2 separate regions of the Homo sapiens genome follow, and region 1 is linked to region 2. Evidence: promoter capture Hi-C in human tissues and cell types (Jung and others, 2019). All regions are on one chromosome and are shown on one strand. Each heading gives the region's core, a stretch centred on a gene start or on the middle of the fragment in contact. The rest is flanking DNA. Distances are from core to core; before and after follow the strand shown.

Region 1 (5,909 bases), core at 1,034-3,533, 41 kb after region 2:
GTTTTAAGATCTAATTTTTAATATTTAGCTGCTATCTTATTCAGGACATAAACACTGATGAGCTTATCTCCTTTGTGAATTGCATCTTGTATTGATATAATATTCCATATGTTTTTTTCTTGAATTCTTTGTTCACTATTAACATTGTCATTCCTACTTCAGTTGTTGCTTTGTCTTATTTTCATTTATGTCCTATATTTTTGTACATCCTTTTAAAGAGGAGCTTTGTGGGTCACTTTATTTTAGGCCTGCCATTTGTAAACACTGTATATGACTCAGATTTCTGTGGAGGAAACAGAAAACCCCTTATGTGTTTTAAGTGAAAAGGGATTTAATATAAGGAATTAGGTGCTTACAGAAGCATTAGGCTAGGCTGAAGGAATGAAGAGGTTGGCAGCCCCCACTGGACTCACAGCACCACATCTGCTGCCGTGGGTCGAGAAGTTACTGCTGCTGCTGCCAGCACAACTGCCTCTTAGCCCATGAAGCTGGTGACCAGGCACTGGAACACAGGTCTGGCTGCTACCAATAGTCTTGTTTGTCCAAACCTGTTTCCTGTCAACCAGCAGCAGCAAGGTGGCCTCCACTTCACCTCCACCTGCTAAATCTCCCTTGAATGCATCTTATTGGCCCAACCTAATTTGCACCTAGCACCGTCATTTGGAAGGCCTTTGAAAAAGGTAATTTTTAGTTTTACAACCCCTCCAAGTAGGAGGATGGAATGGAAAAGCCATTCCATCTTAGGAAAGCCAATCCAAGAATCTACCATATAGTTTTGAAGTTTGCCTTTTGAATTCTGAGAACCCTTCTGTTTCAAATGGAGAGAGTAGCCCAGTCACATTTATTAGAAATGATATTGATCTAACTTCTTTATTCTTATGTTTATGTGCATTTCTACTTTTCTTTTTAATCTTTTGTCATACTGATTTTTTAAAGTAATTTGCAAGTTTTGTATTCTATTTTATTCTACAATTATTTTTAGTTGAAGTATACATAAATAAATATATATTTAGATTATGTATATCTTTAGGTTAAGTATATACTTCCATACCTTTTTCAGGGTCAAGCATGAATCAGTATCTGTCAACCCATGTACCGGATATCCTAGTCAGGGGGCTCTTGCTGGCAAAAAAGAGAAGCCTTCCGCCAATCTGAATAGAAGATGATTTCAGTGAAAGGATACTTGGTGGATCATAGAGTTGGTGGGAGGCCTGGAGAGCCAGGCTGGGGGAGTGGGCAGGTGGAGCAGGCTGTTTAGAGTCCTGCTGCTGCCAGTCCCACAGCCCCAGGGCACAGGCCTCTTCTCCTCACCTCCCTTCCTCTAGGTTCAGACCCTGGGCAGGGCTTCCTAGTAGCTGAATTTAGGCCATCCACCTGGGCTCTAGTTGTTTTTTTTTTTTTTTTTTTTTTTTGAGATGGAGTCTCGCTCTGTCACCCAGGCTGGAGTGCAGTGGCACGATCTTGGCTCACTGCAACCTCCGCCTCCGAGGTTCAAGCGATTCTTCTGCCTCAGCCTCCTGAGTAACTGGGATTACAGGCATGTGCCACCATGCCCAGCTAGTTTTGTATTTTTAGTACAGACGGGGTTTCTCCATGTCGGTCAGGCTGGTCTCGAACTCCTGACCTCGTGATCTGCCCGCCTCAGCCTCCCAAAGTGCTGGGATTAAAAGGCTGGCCCCACATTCCACCAAGACTCGCACAGTGGCTGATTCCTTGAACCTAGGAAGGTGTCAGGTGCTGTACCCCAAACATTGAAGTGTCCGCGGTACATATCCCCTCATTGTAAAAGATGAGAAATTTAGTCTGTTTTCCCTTCTTCTTTTTAGTTTGATCAACAAGCACTTATTGACTGCTTTGTAAGAATCAGAAATTGTCATAGGCACAAATTATGTAAATCAAAAGGCCAATTCCTGTCTGCAAGGAATGCATAGTTTGGTACGGGAGAGAACTAGATACTTAAAGGTGCTGTTTTACTGTGATGGGACACATACTAGGAGCATGTATGTTCACAGGGTGGGATTGGAGCAGAGGAAAGAGATGCTTAGCTCTGTCTGAGTGGGAGAGGATGAGTCTGATATGATCTCAAAAGAGGATCATTTTCCAGGTGTTCAGGGTAGGGGAGAAAGGCACAAGCACTCGGATATGTGGAACAACATGGTGCACAGAAAATATATGCACTTTGCTGTCACCAGGACAAGTGTCACCTGTGTAGGCAGGACCAGAGGAGCTGGGGCTGGAGAGTTAGATGGGGCCACCTCACATTAGAGGTGACCGACGGAAGAGGACCCAGCAGAACATGGCCATCCCTACCCCAGCCACATTGGAGCCTGCTGATTCTCTCTCTCTGAAATTTGCTGAGTCTTTGGATCCACAGAGCTTCTAACCCTGCTGGAGCCTGGAGAAGAGGAGAGGGGGGAGCAGAGAGACAGTAGAGATGAGAGAAGGGTGCTGAAAGATGTACCCCGCTTCTGGCTCAGTGAAGACATGACATTTTCCCACAGTTCAGTAGGCACCAGAGAAGGTGGCAAGGCTTGAGTGGCCTTTAGGTTAAGGGGCCCCTGAGGCATTTTCTGAAGGGAGGACCACCTGTGTCAGGAAACTTGCACAGGGGGAGGCCTCACTGGGTCAAGAGAGGACAGCATTTGGATGGCTGACCTTCAGGGGCCACTGAGGACCCACTGGTATTAGCCAGAGAAGTAGCAATACCAAACAGAGTGACCACAAGAGGGACCTTTTGAAAAGAAAGAAGGAAACAATAGTTGCTGGAGAGGATGTGGAGAAACAGGAATGCTTTTACACTGTTGGTGGGAGTGTAAATTAGTTCAACCATTGCGGAAGACAGTGTGGTGATTCCTCAAGGATCTAGAACCAGAAATACCATTTAACCCAGCAATCCCATTACTGGGTATATACCCAAAGGATTAGAAATCATTTTACTATAAAGACACATGCACACATATGTTTATTGTAGCACTATTTACAATAGCAAAGACTTGGAACCAACCCGAATGCCCATCAATGATAGACTGGATAAAGAAAATGTGTCTCATATACACCATGGAATACTATGCAACCATAAAAAAGAATGAGTTCATGTCCTTTGCAGGGACATGGATGAAGCTGGAAACCATCATCCTCAGCAAACTAACATAGGAACAGAAAACCAAACAGCGTATGGTCTAACTCATAAGTGAGAGTTGAACAATGAGAACACATGGACACAGGGAGGGGAACATCACAAACCGGGGCCTGTTCGGGGGTGGTGGGCAAGGGGAGAACATTAGGACAAATACCAAATGCATGCAGGGCTTAAAACTTAAATGACAGGTTAATAGGTGCAGCAAACCACCATGGCACATGTATACCTATGTAACAAACCTGCACGTTCTGCACATGTATCCAGAACTTAAAGTTAAAAAAAAATAAGATCTGGGGATCTAATGTGCAGCATGGTGACAACAGTTAATAATGTTGTATTATATACTTGGAATTAGCTAAGAGAGAGTTTATCTTAAGAGTTCTCACCAAAAAAAACAAAAATTAAAAAGGGAAACTATGTGATTTGAGGGATGGATATGTTAATTAACTTGATTGTGGTAATTATTTTACAATACATACCTATATCAAATCTTCATGTTGTACACTTTAAATATATACTTTAAATATGGGAAAAAAAAGAAAAGAAAGAAAACCCTTCATGTCTATGCCTCCAATGGGCTGAGTCTTCTCAATAGCCTTGGCATTTGTTGGTGGCTAATTGAGGATGCCAAGGAGGGATTTCACTACAGGGCTTGGAACACAGCAGTACTTCCTTAAAATTATCCTTAGAATCTCTTTCTCCTTCCAGCCGCTGCTCAAATCCTACCCTCTTCCACCACCTCTTAAATCTTTTTCCTGCCTGCATTTTCTTACATAAAGCAATCTACTACTGCCATCGGTTCATTCACTCACCGGAACCTGTCTTGCCAGGACCTGACCTCAGCAGACTGAGTCATACCAGCATCATCCTTGTTGGGGCCCAGGTCTGCATCCCGCTTCCGGCCCCAGCCCCACTGTTAGCTCCATCAGGTCCTCTGGGGCACACCAAGGAGGCCGTTTTCTCTCCCTTTTTCTGAATTAGATCCCCAGAAACAAGACATCAGGCTTCCTGGGGAAATCTAATTTTGCTCATGAATTTGACCATTCATTGTTGCTCAGTTACCTGTGCCCAGCTCTTTCTGCCTTTTCAAACTGCACTCAGCTGTGCCCTTGAATGAACTGGGGCAGAAGTCCTTAGGTCCTGATCACACATGCTGTTCCCAACTTCCCTTCCCCTTGACACGCTGTGGTGAACTCTGAATTCCAGCACGTCTCCACTCTGCTGTAGAGCCTTTCTAGGGCTGGCAAGCATTCTGCCACAGAGCTGGTCTTTGTGGCTTTATGCCCACAGTAATTACTAGGGCTGGGCCATGCAACCGTCTAACCTCTTCAATTTACAGCCTCCAGGATCTGCCACCCCTGTGGCATTTGGAGGGTGTCTAACCACAGACCGGACGTGCGTGGTAGCAGGTGGTCTGCTTGATTGCTGGTCCTTCAGTGACCCCTCTGCTCTCCAGTGGCCAGACAGGGATTCAGAACATGCCCAGGCATGTCTGCTACTGACGTCCTCATCCATGAAATTCCCAATATCTGCAGAAATTGTGTATTTGTACATGTTGATTCTATAATAAATACTGAATCCCAGCCTGTACTGCAGAAAGGCTTCCTTAGCCTCTCAGTCTGGCTTACGTAAAGCAGCGTAAGTGTGATTCTCCATTTCACACACCGGGGCCCTTAACATTCCATGCCCTCATGGCTCTAATTCTGATTTTGGAACAGACCCCACCATTTCCCTCTTTTTGAAGGTGACTTTGCAAGGATCACATAACTCCTGTTGGGCCAACTTCCTTTCCCTTGTACTATGAGCATAACAACTAGATGGTCAACCCGAAAGCTCATTCTTGTCACAGTTCTGGGGGGATCAGTTACCTGAAGCATACTCAGGTTGAAACCCCAGACAAACCTTACCAAATATGATGTGAACATTCCAGTCTGCCCTGTAGACCCTCACTATGGTATCACATCCCAATAAACACAAGCCCACCTCAAAAGAAAAAAGAAAGATTGATAAGTAATGCAGGTCTTTACTTCTTGTAAACCCAGAAGAGAGGATTACATAGCACGTCAGACAAAAATATCTCTTAAAATCCTTTCTAAGCAATTCTTGTTATGCCCGAACTTTGATTTCTCATCAGTTTCTTATGGTGAGTGCCCTATACCTAAATCCCTCCAGTATTTCCTCCATTTCTTTGCCTCTCTGTTCCTTTCTTTCTTTCTCTCTTTTTCCCTCTCTCCTTCTGTCCTGTTATTACATTTCCTTAGTGTTTCATTGCATCTGCTTCTCTGGTCAGCAAAACAAAACCATCTCCTTTGAGGCCCACCCTTCTTAAAAGGACCAGAGGGATAAATTTTTTTTTCTGCAGTTATTTTTTAATTAAACTTTTTATTTTGAGATAAATGTAGGCTCACATGCAGTTTTAAGAAATAATACAGATTAATCCCTTGTGTGTTTCCCCAATGGTAACATGTTGCCAAACCATAGCATAATTTGATATTGTCATCGATACAGTCAAGTACAGACCATTTCTATCCCATAAAGATCCCTCATGTTGTCATTTTATGGGCACATTTACTTCCCTCTCTGTCACCCTTCCTTAGCCCTTGGCAATCACTAATCTGTTCTCCATTTTGGTAATTGTGTCATTTCAAGACTGTTATATAAATGAAATAATACAGTAGATAACCGTTTGAGAGTGGCTTTTTCACTGAGCATACTTCTCTGGATTCATCCAGTTTGGTGCCTGTATCATATTAATAATTCCTTTTCATTG
Region 2 (5,225 bases), core at 267-2,766:
AATGCTCGAATAGCATCAGCTGTTATTACTACTACTACTTACTACTATTATTTGCAAAAACATTACAAGGGATAATTATATCCAGGAAGCTTCCCTTGTATTGGTAATGTTTTATTGCTTTTTCTAAAATTTAAATCAGAGCAACAGTCAATACATGCACACAAAAAAGGCAATTCTTCAAAAATGTGGGGGAAAAGCCTCCCATACCCATGTTACCTGCTGGTGAGTTTCAGGTAAGGGTGTAGCTGGGAGCATCCGGTTCCAAGACTGCCTTGTATTTCTCTTACAGGATGCCTCCCCTTCTGCTGCGGTTTTTAATCAGCGTTTCTAGGGCAGGCTTGCAGGCGGGGCCGCGAACCCCCTGTAGTTGTACACGGAGCTGGGTGAGGCTGCGGCTCTGGGCATTTCTGGGGAGGAGTTCCATGGCTTTCCACAGACTCTAACCACCCTGCAGCGAGCCGCATGCTATACGGGTTAAACTCGGGGCATATCGAACGAACAATTCACTTCACGGAAGACTAGCAATAACCAGGACACCTGCGCTATTGATCAGCTATCTCAACACCAGAGAGACCCACCAGCACAAGGGGCAAGAATTGGCCAGGAGGCGCGCGGCGCTGCGCCCTCACCGCGTCCAGACAGACCCTTGAACTTCACCGCCAAAAAACGCACCGCTCCGCAGACCCGACCCGGGAGAGGGGTTTAACTTCCCCTCACCTTTCCCATCCCTCCTTCATTTCCAAGGACATACTCAAAGGAAACTGGCAACACTCGGTCTAGGGTTTCGCTCCTGCCCTCGGCGGACACCGAAACCACTTCTCCCAGGGAAGTTAATTAAAGGAACCATTAATCCGCCCAAAAATCCAAAACCTACCCCCAAAGCTCAAGAGCTCTGAAAAGAGATCGAGGGCGCCTCTGCCGATCTTGAACATCTCTGCTCGTCGCTGGGGCTTAGAGGTGGGCAGGGGGTGCCAAAGGGGCGCAGGCAAGACCCGGCCAGAGGGTTAGACGCCGGCCCCCGTTCCGAGGCGGCCCAGTCTACACGCCAGCGACGCCGGCTGAGCCGGGCTTGGAGGCAGCCAGGTAAGCAGGTAGGTGTAGGCATGTGTCTGAGCAGACACACAGCTGCGGCGGATTAAAGTTCAAGCCCGTTCACACTCCGCTTCCCCTTCCCAGGTGTTCTCACGCACGGCCCAGGCAGCCACTTTCCCGGGGAAGCCTCGGCGCTCGACCGGACAGTCCCCTCTTTGTCATTCTTAATGACTCCCCTTGCCTCCCAGGCGCCAACCCATTGAGACTACTCGCTTCTCTCCACTCTCCCAGGCGGGCGCAGAAACCCCCGGAAAGGGGAACTCGGCGGGGACCGGGGGAAGCAGGGTGTCGCGCGGCGCAGGGGGCGCCGCAGCCGGCGTACGTACCCAGAGCGAACAGGGCGAGCTGTCCAGCCGAGGGGACCATTTTACGGGCGGGCGGGCAGCAGGCTCTCCAGCCTCCTGCCCTACCTGCGGTGCCCGAGTGGCGGAGCGGCGCCGCGGTGCGGGGGAAAAAGACGCAGACTAGGCAGGGCCTGCCCCCGGCGCGGGAGGGCGGAGGGAGGACCGAGCGCCTCTCTGCTGGCACTCGCCCCGCAGCGCTGCCCGCCGGGCGGAAATAGGAAGGCGGCTACCGTCACCTCCTCGCCACTCGGCGACCGGGGCACAGCTGACCCCCCCCTCCCGCCCCGATGGGGGTGCCCCCCTGAGGGCACAGAGGGTGGGGGTTTGGGGTAAGGGGCGGGGACGCTGAGCGCACCGAGCAGGGCGCGGGCTGCTGGGCGGGGCGACCTGGGATCCCAGAGCCTGGCGGCGCGAGCCGGGCACCCGGGCCGACGAAAAGGCAGGAAGCGCCTGACTTCAGACACCACCCCCGACTGCCAGCGCCGTGCGGCAGCGGACTCCAGCGTGCGGGGTCGGCGCCGGCCGCGTAGCCGGATTGTCCTGGGCCGCAGTGGCGGCTTCCAGGCTCTAGGCGGCGGAGCGGAGCCGCCCGGGCACCCGTTACCTACACCGAGGGGCCGCTCCTGGGGCATCTCTGGGGCGGGGAAGGCTGGAGGCTGGGGACGCAGCCAGGAAAGGGACCTGTGAGTTTCGCCGGCCGCTTGCCAAGACTTGGCTCAAGGAAAGTGGTCCCCTGAATCAATGAAGAATTTGTTAAACCAGGTTTCCCACCTGTGCCACAGTTCCCATCAATTCTGGCAACGCCTGCCGCCTTACCTCCCAGGCAGGCCACATCGTTAAGATCAGTCTTCGTACTTCTGGCCTGGGACTGATAAAAAATGGGTCTCTGTGACGAATCTGGTTATATGGCACCACCAGCTGAGGCCAAAAGCCTGCTAGCCTGCCACCAAGTGTACCCCGAAAGAGGGGTGTGTGGGCCCGAGTCACCTGGGTGGTCCTTTCAGGATTTGTGGCTCTGAGGTGGCCCCTGGTGCTGGAATTTGGGGAGGTGGAGGGGATAGAGGGAAGACATTCTGGGCGAAGAGTGGAAGATCCATAGGTTCCTCGGTGACCCTCATGGGGACAGTACACCCGGGAGATTCATGTTCTCCAGGTACCCGGAGCTCACGGACTGACCCTCTTCTCCTGCCTCCTCTGGCCTACGTGCTCCGGGTAGATCCACTTTCCTTGAAGGTGGGGGTGGGGGCTGTTGGGCCTGGGGAATCTTTTGCTGTTTACTTGGGGAGGCTCAGGCTCTCACGGTTGACCTCTGCCCAGTTTGTTTCATGTAAGTAGAGCAACCTAGTTTCAAGAAGGAAGCACCAGGCCATTGGTCTCAACATTTGGGCAGGAAGCACCAGTGTAAATCATTCCTTTCAATAGATTTGTCGGAGCATACTTTGTTCTTTTAGGGTAAATCTTTTCCTTGGTCCACCCCATGCATGTACAAGGCACACATGCACTTCCTTTAGTAGGTTGTCCCTGACTCCCACTTCCTTCAGGTTGATCTTGACCTGCTCTGGTGGTTTCCCTGTCTCCTCCCTAAACTAGTCTGCTTTGGCTACAGAAGGGGAGGAATCAGGGGTTCCCCCACCCTTCTCCTGTTCCCCAGGACTAGAGAAGGACCTGACTCCTTGCTTCCTACTGGAACACGCAAATCAAGCTCACTGTGGCTGAGGGATGGCTGCCCAGCCGGCTGAGGGTCATGTTCAGCAGTTTCTGCTTATCTGTCCCCTACCCCCAAAGTCAGAGGTGGAGGGAAGTAGCAGAATCAAGTCAATTTCCTTCATGATTGGAAAATATTTTAAATCAAGAGGTAACTTGCAGGCCAGGCATGGTGGCTCACACCTGTAATACCATCACTTTGGGAGGCTGAGGTGGGTGGATTGCTTGAGCTCAGGAGTTCGAGACCAGCCTGGGCAACATGGTAAAACCCCCCATTTCTACTAAACATACAAAAAATTAGCCAGACATGGTGGCGTGCGTCTGTAGTCCCAGCTACTTGGGAGGCTGAGGCACGAGAATCACTTGAACCTGGGAGGCAGAGGTTGCAGTGAGCCAAGATTGTGCCACTGCACTCCAGCCTGGATGACAGAACAAGACTCTGTCTCAAAAAAAAAAAAAAAAGAAAAAAAGAGATGGCCGGGCGCGGTGGCTCACGCCTGTAATCCCAGCACTTTGGGAGGCCGAGGCGGGCGGATCACGAGGTCAGGAGATCGAGACCATCCCGGCTAAAACGGTGAAACCCCGTCTCTACTAAAAATACAAAAAAAATTAGCCGGGCGTAGTGGCGGGCGCCTGTAGTCCCAGCTACTTGGGAGGCTGAGGCAGGAGAATGGCGTGAACCCGGGAGGCGGAGCTTGCAGTGAGCCGAGATCCCGCCACTGCACTCCAGCCTGGGCGACAGAGCGAGACTCCGTCTCAAAAAAAAAAAAAAAAAAAAAAAAAGAAAAAAAGAGATAACTTGCCATCTTACAAACTAAAGAGTATCCAAATCAAAGTACATTCTAATGCTTGAAAATCATTAATTCTCCCTCCAAGATTTTCAAAAGCTGGTCCATATCTGTGGTTTTATAACCCTCCAATTCATTCAAGTCAAACAGGTCATCAGGGGCTGGGTGTTTTTTTTTTTTTTTTTAACTTAAAGATCATTTTTTTGGTAAACTGAATTGAAATGATTTTTAAACGTTTAGTCATAGAGGAAACCTAATATCCTAAATTGTTGATGCTCTATCTTTTGTATTTTATATATCTCATTTAATCCTCACAATAATCTTATGAGATAGATCCCATCCCCTTTTATAAGAGAAGAATCAAGACTGAGTGAATTTAGTAACTTACCCAGAATTACACAGCCAATAAAGGGCAGAGCTTGATTTTGAAAGCAGAACAAGCTGGTTCTGAGGCTTATGTGCTGGCTTCTCTGCTATACTGCCTCGGTTTCCACATTTTCAATAAGGATAATGCTTAACTCATTGGGTTGATGTGAGTACTAAATGCAAGAATTTATTTGCATACTTAGCATAATATTTGACATCAACAAAACTACCTATTATTTAAAGGAAAACTCCCTCAGTGGACACACCTTTCCCTTGTCTTAGTTCCTTACCACTATCTTTATGTTATCATTTTCATATCAGCTTCTTTGCTTGAGCATATGCATGTACATGCACGTGCATACCTCTTCCTATGGGAAATATTTTCATAGGTGAATCAGGAGGTATGAAGTTGTTTCTCAGCTGTGGTGTGAAAGAAATAAGAAAAAAATTGACAGAACGCGATTTAGAGCAAAGCAATCATTTTTCCTAAAGGGTGGTGTGACATTTTGTATTGGAACACCTCACTCTCTGAGCCGAGTGAAATTCCAACTGTAGCCCCTTGAAGCTGTGTGGAGACTCAGGTATGCGCCTTCACCTACAGACACTGCATCTGTCTCGCGTGGCCACTGCAGCTCCTGTTTCTCTGCACGTGGAGCCTGATGATTATGTGGCCTTCCCACTAAGAGTCTGCCTGGACTGCCTTTGCACACACTTGCTGCAGCTGGCCTTGAGCTCAGTATAATCTCTTCTGTGAGAAGCCAATCACAGCCTCTCCTCCCTGTGCAAACAAGAGAACTATGTTATGCTCTACTGAGAGCCGGTAAACCGCCCTGTCAGTTTTCCCTTTCCTTTCTCCTACATGCTTATTATAGAGGGTATGTTTAAAGAGCCCTCTTCTTCACTGTGATCAGCCTCCCCTTCCTTCCTGATT

What was found. Contacts are between HindIII fragments. The study calls those that stand out against the background at their distance.
Region 1: a fragment that was not itself captured here is called in contact with the fragment with the promoter of TGFA in region 2 in 1 of the 25 tissues and cell types used here (hippocampus).

The regions. Positions count from the first base shown.
Region 1 is chr2:70,592,477-70,598,385 of GRCh38, forward strand. No RefSeq gene overlaps it. Among named protein-coding and RNA genes, the nearest start is that of TGFA, 42 kb to the left of the region's middle. RefSeq lists enhancers at 3,750-4,949, 3,901-4,402, 4,403-4,902. The HindIII fragment of the contact is 6,641 bases long and covers 1-5,604 here.
Region 2 is chr2:70,552,310-70,557,534 of GRCh38, forward strand. It overlaps TGFA (transforming growth factor alpha), which reads right to left and starts at 1,517. Exons shown (of 6, transcript NM_003236.4): 1 at 1,419-1,517. The coding sequence starts at 1,458. It overlaps LOC124907824 (a long non-coding RNA gene), which reads left to right and starts at 399. Exons shown (of 2, transcript XR_007086906.1): 1 at 399-1,083. RefSeq lists a silencer at 1,578-1,647. The HindIII fragment of the contact is 16,400 bases long and covers 1-5,225 here.